7 separate regions of the Homo sapiens genome follow, and regions 2, 3, 4, 5, 6 and 7 are each linked to region 1. Evidence: promoter capture Hi-C in 16 types of primary human blood cells and fetal thymus (Javierre and others, 2016). All regions are on one chromosome and are shown on one strand. Each heading gives the region's core, a stretch centred on a gene start or on the middle of the fragment in contact. The rest is flanking DNA. Distances are from core to core; before and after follow the strand shown.

Region 1 (4,112 bases), core at 865-3,364:
TCATTTAACTCCCAGTTTTGACGAGAACAATTAGACCCCAAATCCACGCAACAAATCAGTAGCAGGGTCAGGATTAACTTGGATATTGACTAGTAATACAGGAAAATTTAATAGCTTCTTTTTAATTCATAAAACTAGATACTTACACTGCCATGTAGTCAAAAAATGCACCATCAGTGACCTCAGATATAGGCTTTTTTAAGATTTCTAGATCTGGAAGAGACTTCCAGTCAACAGAAGACCAAGAAGGAAGATCCCTCAACAAAAAGTATCTCCACAGAATTGGATCTCTTACAGTTTCATTCCAATAATGATTTGTACTTCCCAACTGACACAGATCATGAGGTGAAAGAAAGGACAAAATATATAGCTGTACATCAATCTGAAACAGAAGAAAGCAGCAGGTAGGAAAAAGGAATGAAGAAAATAGTTTTTGGGTGATAAACCACATAATCAACAAATAAATAACAAAAGGTCAACTGACTAGTATTTTTAATAACTAAATCTACCATTAATAATTAAATCTATTATTTTCCTGCTATCAGCAAAGGATCATAACTGAACATTTTAGTTTCGTAGTTGTTAAACATTTAATTTCTGAAACACCTGAAACATTCCTGAAAAAGCAACCACTGTCTTGCTATTTTTCCAGCAAAATCACCAGTTCCTTTAATTTTTCCTCAGAGATATTTGGATATACCAGTTAGTTACATAAATTAGTTAAGGAAATAATTTGTCCTTCAAAATAAAACCCATATCAACCTTTATCTGATTTTATCATCAGACCAAATCAAAGAGTGTACATTTGTCTTTTTCTTTTTTGAGACACAGTCTCGCTCTGTCGCCCAGGCTGGAGTGCAGTGGCAAGATCTCGGCTCACTGCAAGCTCCGTCTCCCAGGTTCACGCCATGCTCCTGCCTCAGCCTCCCAAGTAGCTGGGACTACAGGCGCCTGCCACCAAGCCCGGCTAATTTTTTATATTTTTAGTAGAGACGGGGTTTCACCGTGTTAGCCAGGATGGTCTTGATCTCCTGACCTCGTGATCCGCCCACCTGGGTCTCCCAAAGTGCTGGGATTACAGGCGTGAGCCACCGCGCCCGGCCGTAAATTTGTCATCTTAGTTCCTCTACAGAATCTATTAAAATGTTATGAAAAACCTCTGCAAGGAGAAACTTGGAGGCATTCTAAACCTGCAGCTTTCACGTTGATATACACATTGGAGAGAGGTGTCAATAGTCCAAATGAGACAAAGAATTGTAATAATTTTCAATAATTTTTGTTCTCTTCATTTACCTATCTACCCCAAAGTTTAACAATAAGTTATGTGTGTCATTCTCGTGGCCTTGATGTAACTTGAGGCACTTGTAACTTAAGTCATTTATTTTCAACTGAGGGGCCGTTTTGTTTCTTCAAATACACAATAACAGCCACAGGCACAATGTCCTCTTGAGAGGGTAAAAACCTTGGCCCTCCAAGTGTTTTGGTACAGTGATCCGGAATCAAAGACGCTGGGAACAGGGACGCTGGAATGCTTTCCCAAGCTAATCAGCAAGTTGGGAACTGTCTCATTTCCGTAACCGGACATTCAGGGTGTCCTAGTCACATGTGCCTGTTTTGGCGGGTGGAAAACCTGAGGGCGATCGGGAGGGTCCCCAGGGGCCCCATGAAGGTGCTTCCCTGAGATGTTCGGGCCCCCTGCGGAGCACCAGGGTCCACGCCAAGACGCTTCTGATCAACTGTAGCTTCTCGGTGACTACACTGCCAGGAATGGCTGCATGGACGGAGCCAGACCCAGGCCGGGGCGCGAGAGTTCCCCAGGCCCCGGGGGGCTCCAGGGGAGGTCCCTCCGGCCCGGGCCGGCCCCACTGTCCTCCGCGGCCTGCGGCCGACGCTCACCGGCAGCCGCGTCAGGGTGCTGGCCGCCTCATCCACCTCCTCCCGTGAGGTCGTACGCGCCACCCTCTCCTTGCTCACTGACTGCCAGAAGGTCTTCCAGCCGCTGAGGATGGCCGCCTCCAGGCGGCCCCAGTCGCTGAAGGGCGGCGGCGGCGAGTTTGTTCCGCTGCGCGGCTCGCTTCCCGCCATGGCTTGCCCGCAGCGTGGGTGACGCGTCTTAGAGCCACGCTAGCGCGTCAGCCTCCTGCGCAGCTCCGCGCCAGCCGAGGGCGCCCTCGGGCGTTCCGCCTCCCGCTTCTCCCGCGAGTCCGCCTCCAGGGCAGGGTTAGGCCCAGGGGCAAGGGCGGGTACTGGGAGGAAGCCCACTGTGCGTGGCTGTGAGCCGAGTACGAAGCTCCTGTCAACAATTAACTTCCCCAGTAACTTGTGGCCTCAACCTCAGCCACGCCAACCGCAGAGCCCCTGTACAACCTCTGGCCCGCTGACTTCCTGGCTTCATTCAAGATGTTCTCTCCGGGATCATTTCCACTATGCCTGGTCCTAGGCGACTCCGCTTGTTCGATAGACCTCTGCCACTGTCTTGGGCTTAATAACCACTTGCTTCCTTTTCAGCACTACCATACTACGTATGGGGTGTTTTTTGTGTGTGTTATTTCCTCAATCACCAAGTTACCATTTATTTTCTTGAGTATCAGCAAAAACAGACTAGAGAGGCAGTCAGCGGGCCAATTACAAAGAACCTTTTGCCAAAATGAGAAGTCTGGACCCACTATGCAAAAATATAAGCACATTTAAAATTTGCAAGGGCGGCAAAAAACGGCTAGAAGAACCCAGATGTGGTGGTGTTGAAATCCCACTAGTGAGTTTTTTAATTCTCAAACCAGATGCCCATTCTACTTACTTTGGGCTTACTTTAAAAGTGCTTTAAGAGAACGTATTACAAGTTAATCTGTTACATAGAACTGGGTATGTATACATTCAAAAAGTAAATCTCTGAGGATCTAAATGTCAACAGAATCCAAGAAAGCCTGATAACTAAGGTTCTGCAAGGCTCTGTAACATACAAGTTTAAGTTTCATTACATTTTATTATTTGCATGTTGTTGGTAGGGGCCAATAACCAATAAAATTGCAGCCTCGTTTTTGGGAGGCAATCTGGACAAGGACCACGGATTAACCATATGGCATTTCTCATCACTTTCTAGGACACGATTTACTTTGAGAGCAAAAAACGAACTAGAGCAAGAAAAAAAATCAGTTCAAGTATAAAGTATTAAAATGATATCTGTTAAATGAATGAGAAAAACTTTATTACGGAAAATTTTGAACATTTATAAAAGGAGAGTGAATAATATGCTCCTGTGTGCCCAGTATCCAAGATTCCATTACCAACACCTGGTTAATCTTGTGCTGTTGCTATACTCACCTAATACTACACCCCCAATTCTGGATCCTTTTGAAACAAATCCCAGACCTATCATCTGTAAATATCTCAGTATCCGTCCCTAAAAAAAACAGATTTTAAGAAACAGACCACTGTACCTAAGCAATTTTAATTCATTAAAATCACCAAATACCGAGTCAGTGTTTAACTTCCCCATCTGCTTTGAAAATAATTTTTCACATTTGATTTGTTTGAATCATAGCCCAACAAGGGTCACACATTACGGATACTCTTAAAGCTTAAGTTTCATTGTATAGCTCCCCCTCCTTTATTTTCCCTTGATATTTGTTAAAGAAAGCAGGTTGGTCTTTCTGGACCACTCTGGACTTTCTTTTTTCTATATTCTTCTTCTTCTTTTTTTTTTTTTTTTGTTAGTAGAGATGGAGTTTCACCATGTTTTCCAGGCTGGTCTCGACCTCCCAGGCTCAAGTGATCCTCCTGCTGTGGCCTTCCAAAGTGCTAGGATTACAAGTGTGACCCACTGAACACGGCCTGCACACTATTAATGGCATCTCAATAGTGTCTTTAACACATTCGTAAATGGTATTATATACTGAGACTGAAAGCTACAAGTCATTCTCATTTTCTAATGTTCGGAGTGATCAGTGGTTTCACTGGGCTGATCCATTCAAATTTCCTGTAAGTTTTTCACCTCAAAGATAGAGCATTTATCAATGAATATTATTTGCTTACAAGTTATAAAATGTTAGTATTCTAGTTCTATAATTCCTTTTATTAGCTGAATTAAAGAAAAATTTTCCGTCAGTCATTTG
Region 2 (4,112 bases), core at 714-3,213, 1.7 Mb before region 1:
GCACACGCCTGCTCCCTTTACACTGTCCACCATGAGTTGAAGCAGCCTTTAGGCCCTCACCAGATGCAGCTGCCAAATCTTGAATTCCAGCTACCAGAATTATGAGCCAAATAAACCTCTTTTTTAAAATAAATTACCCAGTCTCAGGTATTCTCTTTTAGTAACACAAAATGGACTAAGACACCTAGCCTCAGGGTTTCCATTGTTACTGAGTGTACATAGGATTGAAGGATCACAATATGACCTCCTATTCTTTCAGCAAGCCATCGTCACCTCTCATCGTTAACTGCTCCTCTCTGCTTTCAGTGTGGATTAAAGAAACTGGCACCATTTCTCTCTGCCAAATACTCTGATTACACCACCTCCCATTTCCTGTCTTCTTGATCCAAAAATTGACAAGAAGTGAAGAAACCAAAAATACCTTGTATATGTGCCAAAATGTTGCAAAAATTGAGAAACCCAGAATCTGCTGAATGGTATCTTGAAAGTTTTTTTTAAAAATTAATAATATATAGGCTACAGAGAACAAGTTATCCAAAATTCTTTTAAAAATTCAAATTAGTAAAGTCAAAAAACAGAAAAGACTAGAACTTTCAGAAAGTCAAAGTTCATTTTTTTCTAGCAATCTTAAACGTTAAGCTTTGAGGTTTCGTGAAATATTTATACACACCAAAAAGTCATCAGTGAGGTTAACATATAAAAATTTTTAAATAACTGTATTTTAAGACTATACATACCCTTTCCTTTAATCAATGCATATTATAAAGAAACATTAAAAGTTGTACCTACCTTAGCTGGAGGAACTTTTCCAGCAGCTGTGATCTGACCAGTAAAAAAACGTCCAAAATGATTTGCTGCTAGGACAACAGCCTTATAACTTTAAAAATAAATAAATAAATAAATAAATAATTCCATAAAAGGAGAGATCTCAGACTCACATATCATCATAAGTCATCAATGAAGTTTTGTCAAAGAATAATAGCTAATATTTATGTAGTATGTACTATGTGTCAAAAACAGTTCTAAGTGTTGTATATACACTTGCTCCTTTAATTTGCACAACAAGCCTATGGAAAGGTACAATTACTGTCTTCATCCCATAGGTGAGAAAACTGAGATACAGACTGAGAGACTTGCCTAAGGTCACTCAGCTAGTAAATGGTAGAGCCAGAAGTCTAACACAGGCAGTCTGCCTACAGAGGCACTCTCTTATCCATTATGCACCCACCCTCTTCATAACAAGTACTGTAGAACATAATAGAAAATGTAATGAAAGAAAGATAGGAAAATACTAACAATGGTTTTCTTTGGGTACTAGGACTATACATCCTTCACACTTACTTTACTATATAGTCCAAATATTGTTTGATGACTGGGTAGTGCTTAGGTAATGGGGGGAAAATCCTTAAAATAAAAAAAATTAGGTCAGCCATAGGCTTGTACAAAATAAGATTTCAACCTCGGAGAACAGAAGAAACACTTCCCTTGATCTCTAATGGTTCAAAGTATGGGATTTTCCGATATACTGACCTTAGTTCATGTCCTAGTTCTCTGACTGATTACCTTTGTGACCTTGGGCAAATTTTTAAAATTTTCTAAACCTTGGTTTCCTCATCTATAAAGTAAGGACAAAAAGCATCTATCTTTTAGGGTCGTGAGGACTAAATGAGATAACGCAGGTGAAACACTTCGCATAAAGCCTGTCACATAGAAAATGCTCAGTGAATATTAAGTGTTTTAGCCAAAGAAACAAACTATTTAATAAATCAAATAATATGCATCATCTTTTCTTTAACAGGATATTTTTAACATGCTACACTAATTTCATTTTCATAGCAATTTATATGTAAAAGGCACTTTTGCATTCTTACTTGGTAATATATACACTGGCTCAATATTATAAAGCAACTATTAAAACTCCCCTGCTAGGTGACAAGAAAATCTTCTCCCTGATCATATTTTTACATAATAATACTTGATACAATAATTGATGCAAAAACATATAAAGTCACCATTATTAAGTTAATCACACTGGAGCAAAAAACAATACTTTAGAGATTACAGTATCTGTTGCTCTCCTGAATTCAAATGACAGCAATTTTTAATGGGCAAATATGACAAAGATTCAAAGGCCACTGTAAGAAATTAATTGTGGAATTAATGCTCTAAAAGATTCAGTTGCTATTCTGAAAAATAAATAATAAAAGGAGATTACACAGGAAATGTACGAGGAAACATTGATAGTGAAAAAAGTAATAAATTGGACATTTTCTTCATGACAGCAAAAAAGTTCAGAATGAACAGTAATGAAGTGGAAGTAGCACATCTTCACTGTAATATGGCTGTGTGTATGAATGAGACGGATAATGATTTATCATACATTGTATGGATATGTATACTAGATGATTCCTTTCACACTATGCTCTCTGCATATATCAGCTCAGGACATAGAAGAGTGATTCCTCAAATTGTGATCCCTGGGTCCCTGAAGGTTTAAACTTCAGACAAATCTGGGGCCATAGTGGATGAGATGGAGAGTAGGAATGTTTCTGCACAATCCTGCCATACTCAGTGTACCCAAAGCTACTCAGCTCTTACTGGATTTATTTATATTGTCTCATAATATTTCATTTGCTCAAAAGATTCAACAGCTAAAACCACTTGATCTAGAGCGACTGGTTTTGATATTCTTTCACATATGTGTATTTCAGAATCAACAGCACCCTTAAAACTTTACATTATACATTTTCTAGATAAAATTTTAAGTCACACATTGCATAATATAACTCCCTTACAGGCTAAATAAATTTAAAAGTGTGCAGCTAAAACACAAAGTAGAATCTATGACATATTTCCTATGCTAAAATATAAAACCTAAGAAAACTTTCTGCTTAGGTGTCAGGCTATAGAAGGCTTTATTCATGTTAGTCATGTTAGTGTCTTTTTATGCACTGTTTTTTTAAAAAGGTTATTTTCTTTGTGCCTCATTAATATTAGCAAATTCTCAACTACTAATAGTTTTCATGATTAAAATCTAATTTAATTAGTTTCTTAGAGAAGTTGATTCATAAGCCTTATCCCATTTCCAGATTGTTCCCACCCTTTAAGGCAAAGTCAGCAGTACACTGCTTTCATGTAGCTATTCCTGTCCCTCACCCATGGCAGGCATGATTACTCAATCATAGCCACATTCCTCCAAGCAGAATGGGCCTTAGAATCCTTCTCAACATAGTACTCCAGGCAATCAACATAGAATGTATTAGTGCTATTGGGCAAATGAAGCTTATTACCATCTTGACCTTAAAGGTCGAAGACATAGCCCTCAGTTATCAATATGGGTTTTGACATCAGATGAAACTTCCTCTAGTCCAGACCTTTTTCCTATTCTTTAAATATTTTATAAATTTACCTAAGCAAAACCTAATTAAGACAGCAAATCCACTAATATATGCATATTAATTTAACCACATGAAATTGTCACTATTCTACCATTTTTGACCTATAAAAACAGTAACTTCAACCTTACATATACATGTACACACACATTTATGAAATACAGTGTGTTCCTCATACAAATAATCTGACAGCTATTTGCTTTGGTGAATGGAAACATTACTACTCTTCTACTCATTAAGATTAAAAAGGAATATAAATAGAGTTCATTTCCTATCTAATTACTGTAAAACAATAAAATGAGTCAAAAATAATTTAAATGCACTCTCAAAAGGCTGTAATCTCCAACAATAATTACAAATAAAATCACTGTAAGACAGAAGAGCTACAGTGTGAAGGTTTCTGTAGCACTATTGCGCTTTTGTTCAATTGAAATGGAAAAGAACCTACCCCGCAATGTTGGCCATGGAGCTTAGCGCATCATATCCCTGAGCAATTGTGACTCTTGGAACCTGGTCCATTGCCAGAACTGTAGTTTTTCTTTGGGAAAGTTTATTTAGCAACTCTGGATTTTGGGCTGGGTAAATAAAACTAATCAGCGTTCCTGATGTCTTTAAAAGGTCAGCTTCATGAACACCTAATGTTGGATTAACCATAGGGGCTCGCACCTGGGGAAAAAATCAAGTCACAGATTATAAATATAAATACTTTAATCATAT
Region 3 (4,112 bases), core at 888-3,387, 1.7 Mb before region 1:
GAGGGGACCTATCTAATGGGTTGGGGCCAGGGATATTACTGAACACCTCACACTACACAGCCCCTCACGACGAAGCATTATCCAGCCCCAAATGTCAATAGTGCTGAGGCTGAAAAATCCTGGCTTAAATTAATGCTCAGTACATTATTTAATTTTGACTTGCTTATAAATTTATATCACATGAAAACAAACTCAAAGATAACATACTGTTTTTCACTTTTGAAAATCATGAATGTTAGGCATATGATAATTTTAATAACAAGCATATGATTATTTTATTCCGCTTACTTGTACAACATAATTTGGGTGCCATTTCTTCAGGAGAAAACATTTGTCATTTGGAATGCTCTGTTTCAGTCCTTAAGCTTCTACGTATAATTACAGCATATTATTCATAAACGGAGTCCCCAATGAAAATAGGATTAAGTTCCAAAAGTTTGCTTTTAAGTTAGTTGCTTCTAAGTCTTAGACACTGTCTTGAATAAAATTTTTGTAGAGATTTGATATTCCCTATTAAGTTTTAAGGGCCTTTCCCACTCTGACTTCTACTCTTTCCTCCCTGACTAATTTGACCTGCAAACTCTCATCTTAAAATAGTACCTCTCACATATGTGTAAGTTTTCATTACAGATTGTTCTATTATTGAATAATTTTTAAAATATTTTAAAATTAAAATAAACATCAAAATTTAAACCATTTGAAGTTTAGGAGTTTTTGTAGTCACAAATGCTTAAAAATAGTTTTTAATAATTAGAGTTCTAATCTATCAGAAGCAAAAAGGATGAAACATTTACAAGACTATAATATAACATTTGGATCTGCTTTAAAGCCTAAAAACCAGAGAGGTGCCCAGTAGCCAAAAATCAAAACATAGGCTGAACCTGAGAAGACATGTAATCAAAAACTGACCTCTAGTGATGGCTTGTTACCAAAACCCACCATCTAGGTAAAATCAGGCTACAGAAAAGGTAGCTTTAATGTCTTTTCATTGTGGTTATTATGTTACATGGTTATTGGCAATTTATTGTCTCAGCTTCCCTTTTATAAATAATTATTAGTAAAGTGAACAGCCCCAGAGAGATGGGATTCTTAGATTTCAGTGTGTCTAACAATGCAGACACTCGACAGGTTTTAAGGGAACCATCACTAACCTTAATCTTAGCCCTCTTCTCCCAGGCTGACCAATCAAGAGTGTTTGATTTTAGGAAATAAATGTTAACTGACTAAATGAGCTGATGCTAATCAACATTAACTGGAAGAAAAAAGAGAACTGATATTAAAGAGCCAGCACAAAGTTCAACAATTGGCATTTGTTTAAGCTACATAAGTAAAACCAGTTTGCATTTGAAATTTCTGTGAGCATTTAAAAAACTAGCTCATGGCATACTACTGTGAATATTGTCCTTTGCATATTCATGTAAGTACCAATTACAAAAACCTATGGGTTTTTAAATCAATATAAAAAATTGGCCGGGCGCGGTGGCTCATGCCTGTAATCCCAGCACTTTGTGGCCAAGGCAGGCGGATTGCCTGAGGTCAGGAGTTCGAGACCAGCCTGGCCAATAGGGTGAAACCCCATCTCTACTAAAAATACAAAAATTAGCTGGGCATGGTGGCAGGTGCCTGAAACCTGAAACCCCAGCTACTTGGGAGGCTGAGGCAGGACAATCACTTGAATTCAGGAGGTGGAGGTTGCAGTGAGCCAAGATCACATTGCACTCCAGCCTGAGTGACTAGAGTGAAACTCCATCTCAAAAAAAAAAAAAATTATCTGTGTAATCATAGTTTAGGGGGTCTGGGAAGCTGGTGAGGAATAGAAGCTATGTTAGTTTCCTACGGCTGCTGTAAGAAATTACCACAAACTGGGTGGCTGAAAACAACAGAAATCATTTCTATCACAGTTCTGGAGGTCAGAAGCCCAAAATGAAGGGGTTGGCAGGGTGGATTCTTTCTGGAAGCATTGAGGGAGAAACCATCCCATGCCTCTGCCAGAGCTTCTGTTGGTTGTTGGCAGTCCTTGGTGTTCCTTGGCTTATAAATGCAGCCAATCTCTGCCTCCATCTTCACATTGCCTTCTTCTCTATGTGCCTGTGTCCAAACCTCCCTCTCCTCTCTCTTATAAAGATACCAGTCAGTGGTCTTAAGGACCACCCTAAGTCCAGGATGGTTTCTGTCTTGAGATCCTTGACTAATTACATCTACGAAGCCTGTATTTCCAAATAAAGGCGGACACAGATACTTTGAGGGGGAACACTATTCAGCCCACTACATGGGCATTCTGTGTGTTTAAGGGTAACACACTGTAAAGAGGGTTTTGGGGGTCTTTGGGGGGAAGTTTCTTTGTTTTTTGAAGAGGGATGGATTTGCCAGTTATTGAGTTTAAAGTGAAAATCCAAATTATTTGAGGGAAATTCAGGTGAAAGTCATTTTGTATTAATAATTGGGGAAAAATTTCCTTAGTTATATACCCGGTTTACTGGTTTAATAAGCACTCAACCTAATTGAACTTTTCCTGCAATTTCTATATATCATATATTTATCACCATTATCAAACTACTTGATTATAAAACCCCATAATAGTACTTGATAAAAGAACTTCAGCCAAATTAAATTTAAAGGAGTTTAATTGAGCAATGAACCATTCATGAATCGGGCAGCCCCCAGAATCACAGCAGATTCACAGAGACTCCAGGGGTGTCTTGTGGTCAGAACAAATTTATAGACAAAAAAGGTAAAGTGAGGTACAGGAATTGGAAATGAGGTACAGAAACAGTGAGATTGGTTACAGCTCAGCATTTGCCTTATTTGAATGCAGTTTGAACATTCAGTAGTCTATGAGTGGTTGAAGTATGGCTGCTGGGATTGGCCACCACTCAGCTCCTGTTACAGGTGCATAGTTATTAAGTCAGGTTTTCAATTTTGCTTATTAAGTTAGATTACAGTTCATCCACAAAGACTCAAATATAGAAGTACGGAGTCTTTCTCAGGCCATATTTAGTTTGCTTTAACACGCTTAACATTTTTATAATACTTCACTTTTTAAATTTTGCATTTGATTAAAAGTTCTAATTTAATATAAGTTTTGCAAAGCATCATCTCTTTGAAGATCTTTTTTTATGCTACATGTTACCCATAATAGAAAAATAAAAACCAGAATATCTCACCTCCACTGGTTCGTTATACTCTCCTATCTCCTCTCCTCCTACCATTTATTATCAATTCTTTCTTTTTCTTTTTCTTTTCTTTTTTTTTTTTTGAAACAGTCTCACTCTGTAGCCCAGGCTGCAGTGCAGTGGGGTGACTTCAGCTCACTGCAACCTCTGCCTCATGGGTTCAAGTGATTCTCCTGCCTCAGCCTCCCAAGTAGCTGGGATTACAGGTGACCACCACCACACCTGGCTGATTTTGTATTTTTGATAGATGGGGTTTCACCATGTTGGACAGGCTGGTCTTGAACTCCTGGCCTCCAGTGATCTGCCTGCCTCAGACTCCCAAAGTAGCTGGGATTACAAGTGTGCGCCACCACACCCAGCTCATTCTCAATTATTTTACCACTTAAATGTGCACGTTTCTAATGTTCCCTTGGCCCTCTCTGCTATTAACTCTAATACTTTCTCTGTGTACAATGTTACTTGTGCTAGGACCACTCCCAAAGCTCAATCTCTAGCCCAGACCTCTCTCCTAAGCTCCAGACTCTTGCAGCCAACTGCCTGCTGGTCATTGCCCTTGAGATATCCACAAACATTTCAAGCCAAACATGAGAAAATTCTCTACTACCCTCCTTTTAGCTGTAGCAAAACACTGGATGTTTCTTGAATGTATGGAGCAATTCCATACTTCCTTGCCTTTCGCATGCTTTTCCTTCAGTCTAGAATGCTCTCCCTGCTCTACCTTTTCTTTGCAAGCTTATGTTCATCCTCTAAGGTGTAGCTTTTGTCTCTTCCTCTGTGAAGTATTCTAGGAAGCCTTGTTCAACTCTTATTTCCTCAAGCTTAGCACAGTGTTGGCACATAACAAATGCTAAATAAAAGTTAGCTAGATCAATAAGCAGCAGCCACTGTGGAAGAAGACTGGACTGAATCCTGAGTCTGGCTGAATACCCTTGGGATAGT
Region 4 (4,112 bases), core at 639-3,138, 1.6 Mb before region 1:
CTTATTAATGATGCCACTCTAAATATTTGGGTACAGGATTTTATGTGAATATAAATCTTAATTCTCTGTGAGAAATGTCCAGCAGTGCAATTGCTAGGTAGTACAGTACTTAATATGTAGAGTTTTTTAAAGAAACTGTTTTCTAAAGTGACTATAGCATTTTACATTCTCACCAGCAATGTATGAGCAACACAGTTCCTAGTTTCTCTACATCCTTGAATTTGCATTGTCACTATTGTTTATTTAAGCTATTCGAATAAGTAGGTAGTGAAATCTCAGTGGTTTTAAAAAAATTTTCCTACTGGCTAATTATGTTGAACATTTTTCATAGGCTTATGCTATCTGTATATTCCCTTCAGTGAAGTGTTCTTTCATTTATGTTTGGCCCTTTTCTAACTGAACTGTCCTTTTACAGTTGAGTTAGGTGTTTTGTTTGTTTGGGTTTTTTTCAGACGGAGTCACGCTCAACCCAGGCTGGAGTGCAGTGGTGCAATCTCGGCTCACTGCAACCTCTGCCTCCCGGGTTCAAGCGATTCCCCTGCCTCAGCCTCCCAAGTAGCTGGGATTACAAGCACGCATCACCATGCCTGCTAATTTTTGTATTTTTAGTAGAGACGGGGTTTCACATGTTGTCCAGGTTGGTCTCGAACTCCTGACCTCAGGTAATCTGTCCGCCTCAGCCTCCCATAGTGCTGGGATCGCACCTGGCTATAGTACTCTCAATACAGTTGAGTTCTGAGAGTACTTTATATATTCTAGATACAAGTCTTTTGTCAAATATGTGGTGCCTTCATCCATTTTTGTTGCTATAAAGGAATAGCTGAGGCTGGGTAATTTATAAAGAAAAGGGTTTCATTTGGCTCACTATTCTGCAGGCTGTACTAGAAGCATGGCACCAACATCTGCTTCTGGTGAGGGCTTCAGCCTGCTTCTATGCATGGCAGAAAGTGAAGGGGAGACAGTGTGCAGAGATTACATGGCAAGAGAGGAAGCATGAGACAGGGGGAGTGTGCCAGGCTCTTTTCAACAACCAGCTCTTGGGGAAACTCCTTGGGAACTAGTAAAACCATAACTCATTCGTTACTGTGAGAATGGCACCATGCCATTCATGAGGAATCTGCCACCATGACCCAAACGCCTTCCATTAGGCCCCACCTCCAACATTCAGGATCAAGTTTCAACAGGAGGCTTGGAGGGTCAAATATACAAACTATACCATGTGGTTTGCAAATATTTCCTCTTGCATATTTATGAAAATTTTCTCCTGTTAGCTGGCCTTGAAGGCTGTACTGTCTACTCCCATAAGGTCTAATGATGATCCTGAGGTCAATAAGTTCTAAAAAAACAGTCTTTTTTTTTTTTTTTTTTTTTTTACCATCACTAGACTGGTGACCTAAGGAAAGGCAGGACCATTGCAGGTGAGTCCTATTTCTGTTAAAAGCTTATTATGGACTAAGTACTGGGTTGGACCTAAAGGATTAAAAGGCATCCTCTGTCTTCAGAGGGCTAGTTTAGGGAAGGAGACATTTAAATAAACCAAATACTAACGATAACAATCTGGCATGCTAAGTACCAAGACAGTTTTCCCAGGGTATACTTATCACAAGGGAGAGAATCTAAGATTAGGCAGCTTGGGAAGTCTTACTGGAGAATGCCTTTCAAGTACAGTTTAAGGAAACATTTTTTTCATAGTTCACAGCAGGTCCTTTTCCATATTACAACATATTTTCCAATTTGTCCAAATTTAGTTCTACTCTCCTTTCACCATAAATTAATAAAAAAGGCATACACGTGGATGAGGAGCACTTTGATGATTCTCTTTAGGGAGTTCCACATGGTGTTCACACGTTCATGTGTTTCTGTCTATGCATTTTGCAATACCTGCCAGTTAGCTCTAAAACAGTCCCAAGATGGATCTGAGCCCTTGCGGTATCTTGGCACCTTTTATGTAAAGTGAAAATATTGGAATGTCTATCTCACAGGATATGAGGATAAAATAAAATGATAAAATAAAAGCTCTTAAAAGGTGACTGACGCATAATAAATATTAGATATTTTTATTATCATGATGCAAAATCCATTCGTGTTATCTCCAAGTCCACCATCCACACATTATAAGAATAGGGCAAAAGTTATACAGTAACAAATACAGAGAAGGCAAAGGATATCTTACCTAATTTTCCTAACAAGAGGGTGTGAAGATGTCGTGACATCACCATGGATGCAGAATGGCCTTATCTTCACATGGGAAAGTCCCAGTTGTTAGAAAAGGTGCTGTTCATCATAAAAGTTTTAAGGGGAAATGAAAAGGTGGTGAGTGCAAACAAAAGCTTGGGGCAGAGTTGGGGCATCTACTTCAGTGGAACATAACTCATTGTTAGTTTTTTAGCATAGTTTATGGGTCTTTCCTGTATGATAAAAAAGTCCAGGCAAGAAGTGACTGGTGACCACATACAATAATGAATTTGAAAATATTAAAATTGTAATTTTTAAATTGTAATCTTGTCTCTGCAATATATGCTGAGTGTTACCACACAGTTATTATTTTACAGATGAGGAAAGTGAGGCTCAGAGAAGCTAAACCCCTTACTTACTCAAAATCACACAGACAGCAATAGTCAAGAGTGGAATCCCAACTAAGCTCTGGCAGACTGAATCCTAAACTTTCCGTACACCGAAGAGCCACACGTACTGCTGGCTTCCTTCCCTGACTTCATTATTTTGCCTAACATCAATAGCATGAACCATTTATTCATGATTGCCCTCGGTGAAGCCATTTTCTCATTCGTTTAGGGGAAGACATTGTTTTCTTTATTAATGAGAAGAGAAAACGGTTAACAAGAGTTTGTGTCCCTAATTGAAATGATTCTTAAGATGAAAAGATAGAAAAACATGAAACCCTGCTTAAAACAAAAGGCTAAAATCAGAATTTATGGAGATGGATCAATCCAACAGTAAAGAAATCAATTTTTCCTTCCTTGTCGTTACTTATATTCATCTATCCTTTATTTGGCATTAATACTGTCAGGCCTGACAAAAACAACAATTTACATATTAATAAAATCTAGAATTGTGCTGTGCAACGCAGTAGCCACTAGCCACATGTGGCTCTTGAGCCCTTGAAATGTGCCAATCCCGACTAAGATGTGCCATAAGTGTAAAATATACACTGGATTTCAACTAGTATCTAAAAAACAGAGAAAATATTTAATATTTTAAATCGCATGTTAAAAAACCATTTTGAACATAATGGATTAAATAAATTTAAATTAATTTCACCTGGTTTTTGTTTTGTTTTGTTTTGTTTTTTGAGACAGAGTTTGGCTCTTGTTGCCCAGGCTGGAGTGCAACGGTACGATCTCGGCTCACTGCAACCTCTGCCTCCTGCGTTCAAGCGATTCTCCTGCCTCAGCCTCCAGAATAGCTAGGATTACAGGCATGTGCCACCACGCCCGGCTAACTTTGTATTTTTAGTAGAGACGGGGTTTCTCCATGTTGGTCTGGCTGGTCTCGAACTCCCGACCTCAGGTGATCCGCCCCCCTCGGCCTCCCAAAGTGCTGGGATTACAGGCGTGAGCCACTGCGCCTGGCCACACCTGTTTCTTTTCACTCATTTAATGTGGCTTCTCCAAAATGTAAAATTACATAAGTGGCTTGCATTTGTGGCTCGCATTATATTTTCATTGGACAGCACTGATGCAAGATGAAAAAGAGGGCAGAGTTACACTGAAAGGTAGCACATTTTCTTGAAATTTCTGGAGGGGAAGGTTAACGGGAAGAGAACGAAGCTTGTTAAACGTAGGTGTGACCTACTGTGGTAAACACCTAGGGTGAATTAAAGAGGGGACACATATTTTGATTCCGTTTCTACTCCCTTCCCCCGATGCTAACGGAGCAGGTGACAGTCTCCCAGGGACCACTCCTCAGCAGTCCGCGGGTCTCGGCCGGAGCCGAGTCATTGAACACACCTGTGCGCCAGCGAACCCTGGCGCAGGGTCCACGCCCCCTCCCCCCGTGTTTTTATTTCCCGGGCGTCAACTGTCGGTCTCGCACGTCTCTCCTGAGAACTACCGAGTAGGTCGGGCCTGCCTGTGGTAAGCGTCCCCCTCACC
Region 5 (4,112 bases), core at 423-2,922, 1.6 Mb before region 1:
ACTTTCTGCCTGTCTTTGGAATTTATATTACAAACAATTTGCTGCATTCTTACCATAAAGGTGGAATTTGCTTATTATTTGAAATTTAAAATGAGATAATGAGCATATAATTTATAGAAATTAAATTTCTTTAGGCCGGGCGCAGTGGCTCATGTCTGTAATGCCAGCACTTTGGGAGGCTGAGGCAGGCAGATCTCAAGGTCAGGAGTTCCAGACCAGCCTGACCAATATGGTAAAACCCCGTCTCTACTAAATTACAAAAATTAGCCAGGCATGGTGGCACACACCTGTAATCCCAGCTACTCAGGAGGCTAAGGCAGAAGAATCACTTGAACCTGAGAGGCAGAGGTTACAGTGAGCCGAGATCACACCACTGCACTCTAGCCTGGATGACAGAGCGAGACTCCATCTCAAAAAAAAACAAAAAAAACAAAAAGAAATTAGATTTCTTCTTGGTTATGTTCCTGCATTGGAGTAAACTTCTAGAAGTTATAAGCTTCTAAATAATAAGCATATAATTTACAAAAATTAAATTTCAGTAGAAGTGAAGCTATTAAAATTATAAAGACAGTTATCACTTGTGGTTGTCTCTTCTTGGTTATGTTCCTCCATTGGAGTAAACTTCTAGGGGTTAATTAAGGCATTTTGTTAAGGATGTTCATTTCAGATTTATCCAGTGTAGTTAGTATTCTTAACAAAAGTAAATGCAATGGCAATGTCATCTTCTTAGAAAATGCACGCACTTATTTTGATAAAAGTTTTGTACATTAAGAGAACTATTTATGCTGTTGTTTTTCCTATTTCATTCAGTCTTTGACTTAGAAGATATCTTATCCTGCCGTTGTAATGGCAGCTGAACTGCGAATGATACTTTATGAAGATGATTCAGTACAAGTACAATATGTTGATGGTTCCACATTGCAACTTTCTCCCTGTGGCTCTGAATTTTTATTTGAAAAGTCACCACCTGTTTCAGCACATCCTTTAGAACAACCAGAAAGAATTCGTCAAAGGACACATTTTGTCATTAGCACTTACAGAGTAAGTAAAGATATCACGTAAACAACTTTTTTGTTTTTTAGAGACAGGTTCTTGCTCTGTCACCCAGGCTGGAGTACAGTGGCACTACCATAGCTCACTGCAGCCTCGAACACCTAGGCTCAAGTGATTCTCCTGCCTCAGCCTCCTTTTACAAGGGAGTTACTCTAGGACTACAGGTGTGCACTACCACATCTGGCTAATTTTTAAATTTTTTGTAGAGCATTGTCTAGCTATGTTGCACAAACTGGTTCTCACACTCCTGGCCTCAAGTAATCCTCCCATCTTGGCCTCCCATTATGCCAGGATTACAGGAGTGAACCACCGTGCCTGGCCAAAACTACTCTTTGAATACCAAAATACTGTTGACGTGGCTAGAATATGAAAAGTAATTAGTATTATGGATTATACTGTACTGTCATTTTTAATTGATTTTCAAATCATTTTACATTAAGGTTACATTTTATATTTCTTTTCATAGGAGCAACTACAGCGAGCCCTAGATTTTCGAAACTCTTCAGCTACTTGCCCTTTTTTATCTGAAACCATCATACCTTCTGAAAGAAAAAAGGTGATTTTTTTAACTTCATTTTTGTTAGTATTATTTGAGGACAAGTAACTAGAAACAGGTAATTTAATATTTAGCCTTTTTTTCCTTTTCAGGACACCTGGGGATACATTGCTATAAAACATCAAAGTTACATAGTGTATCCCCCTTGCCATTTTCTTTGTATCCAAGCATTATAATCAGAATTTTTAGATTGGTGACTTTTTCATTCTCAGAGGTCTCAAAATTAAGTAATTATGTGACCATTTTCAGTAACAGCGTATTTGTTAATGTATAGTAGAAATATGTAACTATGGGTATGACCTTTATTATTTTGCTTATATAGTATTGTGTTTGGACTTTTAGGAATAATAACTGTCATTTACTGAGGGTTTACTATGTCCAACAACTATGAACAATATTAGAAATATTTAATAACACCATACTGATCAAAATGGATGTCCATCCAATCAAAACAGGTATATTGGCTAGATGGCAGCCTCTTTTTTTTTTTTTTTTTTCTGAGACGGAGTCTCACACTGTCGCCAGGGCTGGAGTGCAGTGGCACGATCTCGGCTCACTGCAACCTCCACCTCCCAGGTTGACGCCATTCTCCTGCCTCAGCCTCCCGAGTAGCTGGGGCTACAGGCACCCGCCACCACACCCGGCTAATTTCTTGCATTTTTAGTAGAGACGGGGTTTCATCATGTTAGCCAGCATGGTCTCGATCTCCTGACCTCGTGATCCGCCCGCCTCAGCCTCCCAAAGTGCTGGGATTACAGGCGTGAGCCACCGCGCCCGGCCGGCAGCCTCTTTTTATAGGCAAGGAAATTATGTCTTAGAGAGTTTACCTAATTTGTCTATGGCAGTTTTCTCAGTGGCAAAGTCAGGATTTGAACCTAGTCTATCTGACTCTGTAAACTCTGTTTCTCAACTACTTTCTGCTACCTTTCTATGCTGTCAAGATGCTTGCCTGCCGGCTGAGTAATTTTATATTGTCTCGTGGCAAAGGAGCCATAAAAAATTATAAGTTGTAACTTAGCCTAGAATGGTAATTTTCCATTGTGTCTTTTGAGTCACTTTATTCACTGAAACTGCCTAGCTTGTTGCTGATGCTGCAGCAGGATTATTAGATAGTCTAATTCTAAAAGAGGAGTTTGATGACCATCCTTACAAACCAGCTTTGCTGTCAGTAAATACAGCCCTCAATTTTAGTGTCCTAACATCGTACATATAGATAGCATGGTAAATTTAGGAAGCTTTCTTGACAATAGTTTGTGTAAACGTAAGATTTTACATAAATGGAATTGAAATGCTAAATGCTTGGCAAAATTAATTCAGTAAAAACCTCTCACGCAATATCTACTGTTTATATCTTATATGAAAAGTCACAATCAACACTGTTACTTGTTATGAGTCTTTTATTAGTCAGAATCAATTTTTCTTTGAGTAATTAAACTTTTTTAAAGTTTCCTCTAAGCCTCCTGAAATTTATTTTAGTGTATGGTGTGCCAGGTACTACCTAGGATGGGTACTTTTTACATGTTACCTTATTTGGTTCATGTGATAACCCTGCAAGACAGAATTTCCCAAATGCTGTTCAGTAATTCTAGTACTAGTTTAAATAATTTTCTCTTTTCCCTCTTGCTCTGAAAAACTTATGTTATCTCATGTAAATTTTAAGATATGATTGAGTTTGTTTTTGAATTTTCTGAGTTGTTCTGTCAATAATTTTTATGGTAGTCCTGTACCATTTAAGCTATGGTTGCTTTTTTTTTTATTTAAAACTTAAAGAAAAATTTTTAGCTATGATTGCTTTTAATATAATGTATCATAGTGTTGGTCTTCCCTTATTTCTAGTTTTTTTTCAGAGTAAACTTTTGCAGGGTGAGGGGAGGGATACAAATCTGTTTAATTCATTGTACATTTAAAACCAAAATACATTTAACACTAAATATGACCATTTCTCTCATTTTGTGTCTGTTTTACATCTCTTTTTTTTAAGGGTGATAATCTTAACAATATCAAACATTCTCTGGAAAATCATATATAGGCTGAGATCTGGCCCTCCATTTTTTCATTCTCTGTAGATAGTAAAACACAAATATTTAAGAGCTTTCTTACACAATACTTAAATATCAAATATATGGAAAAATTGGACTGTTAACAGAAAATACTCACCGTCTCTTTTCCCCTCTCCTTGCAGCATATCTTCATTGACATAACAGAAGTGAGATGGCCCAGTCTTGATACAGATGGTACCATGATATATATGGAGAGTGGCATTGTGAAGATAACATCTTTAGATGGTCATGCATACCTCTGCCTGCCCAGATCTCAGCATGAATTTACAGTACATTTTTTGTGTAAAGTTAGCCAGAAGTCAGACTCATCTGCAGTGTTGTCAGAAACAAATAATAAAGCCCCAAAAGATAAACTAGTTGAAAAAACTGGCAAAATCTGTATACGTGGAAATTTACCAGGACAGAGACTGAAGAATAAAGAAAATGAGTTTCATTGCCAGATC
Region 6 (4,112 bases), core at 519-3,018, 1.6 Mb before region 1:
AAGTGTTATATATATTTTTAGTTTTTCCATGTGGATAATAATGAAGGCATTTCAGTCGTTTCAGAGTTGATAGCTGTACTTGTGTTTAGCATAACTAAATAGATCAAGTCAGCTTTTTTTTTTTTTTTTTTTTTGAGACAGAGTTTTGCTCCTGTGGCCTGGGCCGGAGTACAATGGCACGATCTCGGCTCACCACAACCTCCGCCTCCTGGGTTCAAGCGATTCTCCTGCCTCAGCCTCCTGAGTAGCTGGGATTACAGGCATGTGCCACCATGCCCGGCTAATTTTTGTATTTTTAGTAGAGATGGGGTTTCTCCATGTTGGTCAGGCTTGTCTTGAACTCCCGACCTCAGGTGATCTGCCCACCTTGGCCTCCCAAAGTGCTGAGATTACAGGCATGAGCCACCATGCCCGGCCTTCAGGTCAGCTTTAATCATTTCATTTGTATTCAAGTAACTTTTCAAAATGAAATGTGTTATAGACATACTGATTTGCTGTGGAGGTTGGATATGGTCAGCTGTGTTAACAATTAACTAATCCTCTAGCCAATTTGAAATAAGATTTGCAACCACAAATAACTGAAATTCTGTATATTTCTATAAAGTGGATAAAATTACGCAATGATTATCTTAAAATGGGGAAGAGTCTTCAGCTTTTTATGAATTTTTTTTCTTTTGGTTTATCTAATTTATTACAGTAAATCTTGTGATAGTCTTCACATTTTAGTGATTTCACTTGAGAATATTCACAAAATAATAGCTTTTTGTTACCTCTTGAATGTATTTTTCTGTTGGGTTTTATTGTGTTTCAGTCTAAGTGCTCATTCATTGCTATTAATGATTTGCCTCAAAAAAGATAGTTTCTTTAGCAAACATTTCTATTGATTCAGCCAATCATTTCAGATCATTCATTTTATTAAACTTGATACTTGTTTTAGATATGTAGTAAGTTACATATAATTACACATATGCATACAAGCATATGTGTATATGCATTAGCAGGTGTTTTTTGGTTTAAATTTTAGTAAGCAAATGCTCAGTCAGTCTTATTTTGTGTGAATATTTTTTGATAAAACTTAAACGCATTTTACTTTGAAAAACTAAAAGAATTAGAACATTTAAAATTGAACTTTAAATGAAATCCAAATATCGCCTTTATTTTGATTCTTAAATGTCACTTGTATTAATCACAAATATAAGTAAATCATTTTATTCTTGATGAATAATGGAAAAAATTTGGCTTTTCTATGACCAGTGAAAAATATTTTGAGAATTGCCCAGTAAATGCTTCACTTTAACATTTTTTCTTTATCCTTTTTTCCCAAATTGTCTTATTTTTACATTTGTTTATAATTTTATAATGTATTCAAGTTCATTTTTCAAGTATTTCTTTTAATGTATTCACTTTAGATATGTGACAACAGTAACATCATGGTGCAGGAGACTGACCCAGACTAGTCCCAGAGAGATGCCCACTCATTCGTCATCTTCTGTTCTCCAAGAAAATTGGTATTTTTCTTTTAAACTTAAATCTGTTTAGAAGAGCTAATACTTTAAAAAAAATTAAAATGTCAAATGGTAAACTGAGACTTTTTTCCCCAAAAAAACTTTCTTAGTTTTGAATATGTTTAACTCCTAAAGTATTTTTGATAGCTTAAGCTTGAAAATAATTTCTAATCAGACATCTAATTTATTACATTTCATCATATTCTATTTTACCTAAAGGTAAGAAAACCTTGCATTGAAAACTTAACATGAAAATGAGTGGCTCTTTTTATGTGACAAATTCATCCTGAAAACTTTATGGAAAAATTTAAAGGGGATTCTTAAATTTTTAGTAATGTTGAAGGAAATAAAAGGTTTAATAACATAAGCTTTCAGAAAACATTGATTTTTAAATAATTTCTGTCATATTAGTTACTTCTCCCAAATTAACTGGCAGATCAAATAAAGCAAGTATTTTAGTCCCTCCTGTGTGCTTTTCAGTGTGCAGGGTACTAGAACTGGGCTTCAAGGGAACTTTCTGTGAAAATATAAGACATTTTAGGGAGGAAATAAGGGCAGAAGTAAAAAGGATATTTTAGCCTGTGGAGATAGAAGATAGTTTTTATGGAACATATGCTATCTATTAGTATATAGTATGAGTTTTGAGGGCTAGGAATGGATCTTATAATAAATAGGAGTTCAGACCTGATGGAATTAGAAAGTCCTAAATGGAAAAATGATAGGAAGAAAGGTCATTAGAAGATTAGTGTCACTGAGAGTCTAACCTGAATATATGGGAAGACAGGGATACCAGGAACAATTTGGGAAGCTTTTTAAGTAAGTTTTGTGAGGTGACCTAACATAGTGTAGTGAAACAAAATGTAAACATTAAGCCAATTTTTGTTACCTTTTCCTAAGCCCTTTCTTAGAACAAATCAAATCATATCAGTAAGCGTTATTTGAATATCTCAGGTAGCTTAAGGATCCAGCTTTGCAGATCCCTCATCCTTTAGCTGTAGCCTGTTTGGAAGCAGAAAAGTTGCTAAAGTAACTAGCAAAAAACAATTGTGATGGAAGGAAAATTGTACTTGTCTATAAAACCATCACTTCACCATTGCTTAGCTGGCAGTTTGTAAAATATCATCAGCCTTTTTATTTGAAAGCTGAGAAGAGGCTGTCAATACACACTAAAAACTGCAAGTAGAGATTGGTGATAGTAGCTAAAGGTGAAAGCAACTAGGAACAGCAGAGGCAAGATAAAGAAATTGAGGAGTAGCTCCATTCCCCCTATAAAGCCTTAGGTATCTCCACTTCGGTTTTTCTTATCAAAGAGGGTAGGTTGAAGGAAGAAACAAGATTGTACAATAAAAAGCTACCTAAGTTGTATTCTAGTATTTTTTTTCCGCCACACCCTCCATTATTAGCTTATTAATTCAACTTTTTAGTCAACAAATAGTACGTTTCATAAAAAGTTCGTTCATTATGAGAGCAATAACAATAAAGGTTGTATTGTTTCTTACATCCAGAAAAATGCGTTGGGTTTAAAAAAAAAAAGATATTTTGCAATAATGAACAATCAGCTGGTTGTTGGGGTAAGTTGTATCCAAGTTCTTTGCCACAGGTGTTTAAAATTATGAAATATTTCTTTTCATTCTCCATCCATAGGCTGGAGTACAAGGGAAAGAGTACAAGCTGACAGGGAGGTGCATGTGATCTGTTGTAGTAAAGCCAATAAAGCAGACAAGTCACACAACCTACTACGAACTGTGAAGATTTTTCTGGTGACTTGAATATTTTAGACTAATGTCTTCATTAATTTTGCAGAGAGCTAGTCAAGTTACAGTTTGTAGTTGTATGCCATTGCTCATATTTCATTCTAACTTGATAAGAAAAAGGATAAAGAACACACACTTAGGGGTTCTGCTGGAGACGTATATATTAGCCCTCTACTCCATACCAGTTGTCCCACTATCTTTCTATAGAACATGGTATAAGAGCTAATGTTCATCATGTTAACCCTCTGTGCTTAAAAAAACAATGAAATAAGTAGGTAGTCTATTCCAGAAAGAATTTAATAAAAAATAGTTGTTTTGACACGTAATTCAACTATTTAAAAACTTGGATCTCCCATACCATCCATTCCCAAAGAGTTCCATATAAATGAGGTCTTAATATATGCACAAGTACAGAAAAGTAAAAAATCCTTTCTTCTGAGAGAAACAATCTAGGTAGGAAGAGCAGGAAGTTAAATAGTTCAAGAGAAGATATTACAAATAAGTATGTGATTAATTAATATGCTATAGGAATTCAAGGAAGGAGAGAGCAGTTCTTTCACAGAAGGAATGGGATTTTAATAGGTTTGTAAAGTTTGCGTAAACTTTAGGGAGGAAAGTAGAGTGTAAGCTAGGTTAGTACTAAGAAGTAACAGGAAGGCCCATTATCCTCAAACATCAATATTTGATTACAAATTCCTTGAAGTGGATTTACAAGGGGTAGACTTTTATTCACTTACCTTTAAAGGCACTCAGTAAGTATCAGTTGAGTCAAGTTGATTTGTTGCTAAATAAAGGTAACATAAAGAGAATTCTTCTGCGTTCTTCCGTTTAAAATTCTAATGAAAAAAAAAGT
Region 7 (4,112 bases), core at 713-3,212, 1.4 Mb before region 1:
GCTGGGACTACCGGCATGTGCCACCACACCCAGCTAATTTTTTTGTATTTTTAGAAGAGATGGGGTGTCACCATGTTGGTCAGACTGGTCTTGAACTCCTGACCTCAAATGATCCGTCCGCCTTGGCCTCCCAAAGTGCTGAGATTACAGGCGTGAGCCACCATGCCTGGCTAGAACTAGACTCTTAATCTCTTCATCCTAATGCATGGCGTGTGTTGATGTTCACTTAATGTCTGTCAACTGGGTGTAGTTACACCAGTAGCGGAGAGGCTAATCTTTGAAAGCCTGAAGTGTTGTCTTCATCTTTGCAGGGTTTTTAGTTGTGGGTGCATATGGGAATGATTGTAAGACCAACAAATGTTTTCTGATTCCATATGGGCTTCTTACATTTTTCACCTTGGAATCTGGGAACAATTGAAACCTACCATATGCCTTGAACAGTAGCAGTAAAGAGCCAGTTTCTTTAAACTAGACATTATGGTGCTGCAGCTCATCTCAAAACTGATAGCAGGCTACTCTGGACACACTACATATAGAGTAGCCCTGCTCTGCAAGGAGCAGTAATAAATTAAAAAAAAAATTAAAAAGTGATAGCAGAAAGCACTTACTACTGAGGGCTGCTACAAGTATTAAATCTAAAAGATTTGTCCTCTAGTAGTTATAACTCCAAATTCAGCCACTGAAAAATGTGACATTTGAGTACCCTTTACTTCAAGGTCTCAAAGGGATTTCAAAAAATCAAAATATATAGCCCCTCTCCCAAAAGAAGTGTAGGAATCCTGTATGGATAAGAAGACTGCCCATAACTAGTTTTCCATAGAGAGTAGGCTATGTAGACTTGGGTATGAATGACCTACCTCTGTAGAAGTGCAGGTCCCTGATTAGAAAACTTATTTTCTGTGTGATTTATCGAGGAAAGCTTCCAGGAAGAGGTGACTTAGAACAGGGCCTTGAAGATGAGTAGAATCTCTGATACGCAGACCAGTAACTCTGGGAGGAGGCAGGGATGTCCATGCTTTTTACTTGGAGAACTATACCAGAGTGTACAGGTTTGAGCAAGTCTTTCTTAACATTAGTTTTTACTTGCTTGCTCCTAAGGAGGAAAGGTTGCCAACTTGTTCTTAATTTCCTAGATTTATCTCCTGTAACAATGAGAAAGATCAATAGGTAACTGTTTATATTTTATAGTTTACATACCAAAATGTGTAGGCAATGAACTTCTCCAACCACTTCTTTGAATCAAGGCTAAGGAGGGAGCCAGAAGGAAGTATTCAGAACACTGAGTAAACTCCAGAAGAAACTACCATTGCATAAATCTGGTTGGCCCTAGGCAGTCTTATCATTCTTGTGTTTTAGTCTTTGCCAGACTCAAAGTGCCTATATTTCATCCCATGAGTCTGCAAACCTGCTTTGTGGTAACCTGCCTGGCTACTTGCCATTCATTAACTGCTTCTTGACCCATGTTGATTCCCTCTGTCACTTACTCTGAAAAGACCTGTTAGAAATAAGCTTGTGATCTGCTTGAGACTTTGGCAATACTGGTTTAGCCAGAATAGAGAAATCCTTAAGTAGCACAGCAATCCTTTCTGAATCTTCTATTTGTTTCTTCTTTGTTCTCTGTGTCTCTCCCACCTAACATCCCTCTCCAATTTAAGTAATCAAAATAGAAAGAGGGGCCCAGGCAAGGTGGCCCACGCCTATAATCCCAGCACTTTGGGAGGCCAAAGTGGGTGGATTGGTTTAGCCCAGGAGTTGGAGAACAGCCTGGGAAAGATGGCAAAACCCCATCTCTACAAAAAATACAAAAATCAGCTGTGTATTGTGGCATGTGCCTGTAGTCCCAGCTACTTGCGGGGTCTGAGACAGGAGGATCACTTGAGCCTGGGAGGTCGAGGTTACAGTGAGCAGTGACTGGAATGCTACTGCATTCCAGTCTGGGTGACAGAGGGAGACCCTGTCTCAAAAAAAAAAAAAAATTTGAGGGAATATAGGCAGTGCAAGGAAAGGCAGAATATAGGCAGTTCAAGGAAAATTTCCTTGATACAAGTAGTGTCAAATGCATATACATACATGAACATCAAGAAGAAATATTATTATTTAAGTAGTCTTAACATGGAGAAGGAATCTTGTTTTTCAAGAACTGGTCTCTGTGGTCTGCTTAATTTGCAGAAGACAAAGGCATAATTTGAGATAATAAAGAACAAAGATAGGTTATTTTCTCAAAGTATGTATAATTACAGTTAATTAGAGACATTTTTGGAATATTGTAGTATTCTTTGCCTACAAAACTCAAGATCTATTTCTTTTTATGGGGCAGGGGGGCGTAGGTGGGTAGTAAACTTAGTTAATGAAGTAAAAGGCGCTACGACTGAAGAGCTCTTAAATTATGTAATTATGTAAAAAAAGTAAAGCTTTATTAAATATTAATAACATCCGAATGTAGTTACCAGTGAATCCATTAAGGGCAGATGCTAAATTTGCCAGTAATTAAATAGAGAGCAGAGGAAATGGTGTATGCTGTGTTAAACATAGAAGTTGCCATCTCAAGTAACAATCAGTCTTTCAAAACAGATGGACTGAAGAATATGTTCCAGTCACCTTCGCAAATTATTTCTACTTAATTTACATAATAATGTTTAATGCTCCTTTGTCTAAATGCTTAATTTTTTAACATAAGCAGTAAGAGGGAAAATCACTTTATAAAAGGTTGGGAGGGTGAAGGTGGCAGTGTTGAAAATGATTAGGTCTTGCTAGAAAAAATACCTTTATTTTCTTTGAAAAACACTTATAAGAACTATAAGAACTAAGGTAATAGTCAGTGTATTGGTGCTTTGTGTTACAAAGTGTCTTCACATATTTTATCATCTCAGCAATCCTTCACAATGATCTGGGGAGGGCAACTGTATTAGCTTCATTTTATAGATGAGGAAACTGAGGTCCAGAATTGCTGCCAAAGCCACAATCTGTTACATGCAGTGCAGGCTCTTGACTGCATATATCTCTTTACTCTAGAAATTTGCTAACTCATTACAACTTGTTTATATTCCTTTCCCCCAATTCTTGAAAACCTTGGTTTAAAGCCTCAATTGGTGACATGGGCTTCTTATTTCCTTGAGGTTTTTTTGTTTATTCCTTCCTGCAATAGTAGGCTTCTTATATCCGTTTATTACCAGGACTGAACCTTTCACTATAAGGGCTATGAAAATAAGGGGGAAAATGTTCTATAAGCTTTAAGTATGATTTTTTCTAAGCAAATGTCAAATTCTATTCTGCATAATGTAATTGGATAAGGAATTGCTTATTTTAACTCACTTTGAATTGGATTCATTAGTATTTGAATTTGGGTAGTGATTTATAACTTTAAAAGCAGTTCTTGTTTGAAATTCCTAGTGCCCGAAGGAGGAAACAGTGACAGACCTGGAGACTGCAGTTCTCTATCCTTCACACAGGTATGACATCCTGTCATGCTGCTTAAGGAAAGTATTCCTCTCTAATGGAAGGAGGAAACTTGGTATCCTAGAGAAAATAACGATTTGTTTGTGCCATATGTTCTTAAAACCCCTTTTAGGGTTCTACCTCATCTTTAAAATTCTGTTAATGCTTTAATGCTTCAGGAAACTAATTTTATGTTTATTAGACTAATGTTTAAAATCTAGAAACAAATTTTAAAAATTAGTGTTCACTCATAAGAGAAAAAGTACTTATAATAAAATGTAATTACATGGACTACTTAATCAGAAACAATCAGAGGTAAACATGACTGCCATTAGTGCTTTTTAAATTATGGCCTCAAAAGATATGTATCTGGGCTGTGGATGAATGTTTAAAATTATGTAAGAATGGGCCAGGCACAGTGGCTCACGTCTGTAATCCCACCACTTTGGGAGGCTGTGGCGGGTGGATCACCTGAGGTCAGGAATTTGAGACCAGCCTGGCCAACATGGTAAAACCCAGTCTCTACTAAAAATACAAAAAAATTAGCCAGGCTTGGTGGCAGGTGCCTGTAAGTCAAGCAGCTCAGGAGGCTGAGGCAAGAGAATCGCTTGAACCCAGAAGTCGGAGGTTGCAGTGAGCTGAGATTGCGCCACTGCACTCCAGCCTGGGCAACAGAG

The links. Contacts are between HindIII fragments. The CHiCAGO score rates a contact against its expected background, and 5 or more counts as called.
Region 2: a fragment that was not itself captured here is called in contact with the fragment with the promoter of FBXO4 in region 1 in 1 of 17 cell types (total CD4 T cells); the score reaches 5.4 in total CD4 T cells.
Region 3: a contact is called between a fragment that was not itself captured here and the fragment with the promoter of FBXO4 in region 1, in 4 of 17 cell types (naive CD8 T cells, total CD8 T cells, non-activated CD4 T cells and 1 more). The highest score is 7.7, in naive CD8 T cells.
Region 4: a contact is called between a fragment that was not itself captured here and the fragment with the promoter of FBXO4 in region 1, in 6 of 17 cell types (non-activated CD4 T cells, activated CD4 T cells, naive B cells and 3 more). The highest score is 9.0, in non-activated CD4 T cells.
Region 5: a contact is called between a fragment that was not itself captured here and the fragment with the promoter of FBXO4 in region 1, in 2 of 17 cell types (non-activated CD4 T cells and activated CD4 T cells). The highest score is 6.0, in non-activated CD4 T cells.
Region 6: a contact is called between a fragment that was not itself captured here and the fragment with the promoter of FBXO4 in region 1, in 2 of 17 cell types (fetal thymus and total CD8 T cells). The highest score is 5.7, in fetal thymus.
Region 7: a fragment that was not itself captured here is called in contact with the fragment with the promoter of FBXO4 in region 1 in 3 of 17 cell types (total CD8 T cells, activated CD4 T cells and non-activated CD4 T cells); the score reaches 7.3 in total CD8 T cells.

What each region holds. Positions count from the first base shown.
Region 1 is chr5:41,923,283-41,927,394 of GRCh38, reverse strand. It overlaps FBXO4 (F-box protein 4), which reads right to left and starts at 2,114. Exons shown (of 7, transcript NM_012176.3): 1 at 1,897-2,114; 2 at 147-382. The coding sequence starts at 2,085. RefSeq lists a silencer at 1,677-1,856. The HindIII fragment of the contact is 6,278 bases long and covers 1-3,579 here.
Region 2 is chr5:43,615,797-43,619,908 of GRCh38, reverse strand. It overlaps NNT (nicotinamide nucleotide transhydrogenase), which reads right to left. Exons shown (of 22, transcript NM_182977.3): 4 at 3,844-4,061; 5 at 790-877. Among named protein-coding and RNA genes, the nearest start is that of NNT-AS1, 15 kb to the right of the region's middle. The HindIII fragment of the contact is 2,643 bases long and covers 642-3,284 here.
Region 3 is chr5:43,597,687-43,601,798 of GRCh38, reverse strand. The region is part of intron 1 of NNT-AS1 (NNT antisense RNA 1); the gene reads left to right. Among named protein-coding and RNA genes, the nearest start is that of NNT, 3.4 kb to the left of the region's middle. RefSeq lists a cis regulatory region at 510 and an enhancer at 426-595. The HindIII fragment of the contact is 3,540 bases long and covers 368-3,907 here.
Region 4 is chr5:43,557,322-43,561,433 of GRCh38, reverse strand. It overlaps a transcript of PAIP1 not described here. Among named protein-coding and RNA genes, the nearest start is that of PAIP1, 2.3 kb to the right of the region's middle. RefSeq lists a silencer at 4,062-4,112. The HindIII fragment of the contact is 889 bases long and covers 1,444-2,332 here.
Region 5 is chr5:43,506,074-43,510,185 of GRCh38, reverse strand. C5orf34 (chromosome 5 open reading frame 34) reads left to right here. Exons shown (of 13, transcript NM_198566.4): 2 at 811-1,041; 3 at 1,520-1,609; 4 at 3,792-4,112. The coding sequence starts at 847. LOC124900190 (a long non-coding RNA gene) reads right to left here and starts at 817. Exons shown (of 3, transcript XR_007058764.1): 1 at 1-817. It overlaps C5orf34-AS1 (C5orf34 antisense RNA 1), which reads right to left. Exons shown (of 3, transcript XR_007058763.1): 3 at 2,989-3,978. The HindIII fragment of the contact is 2,348 bases long and covers 499-2,846 here.
Region 6 is chr5:43,488,027-43,492,138 of GRCh38, reverse strand. C5orf34 (chromosome 5 open reading frame 34) reads left to right here. Exons shown (of 13, transcript NM_198566.4): 11 at 1,410-1,508. C5orf34-AS1 (C5orf34 antisense RNA 1) reads right to left here. Exons shown (of 3, transcript XR_007058763.1): 2 at 3,997-4,095. Among named protein-coding and RNA genes, the nearest start is that of C5orf34-AS1, 6.2 kb to the right of the region's middle. RefSeq lists an enhancer at 3,157-3,326. The HindIII fragment of the contact is 215 bases long and covers 1,661-1,875 here.
Region 7 is chr5:43,307,103-43,311,214 of GRCh38, reverse strand. It overlaps HMGCS1 (3-hydroxy-3-methylglutaryl-CoA synthase 1), which reads left to right. Exons shown (of 11, transcript NM_001098272.3): 2 at 3,391-3,449. Among named protein-coding and RNA genes, the nearest start is that of HMGCS1, 4.3 kb to the left of the region's middle. The HindIII fragment of the contact is 902 bases long and covers 1,512-2,413 here.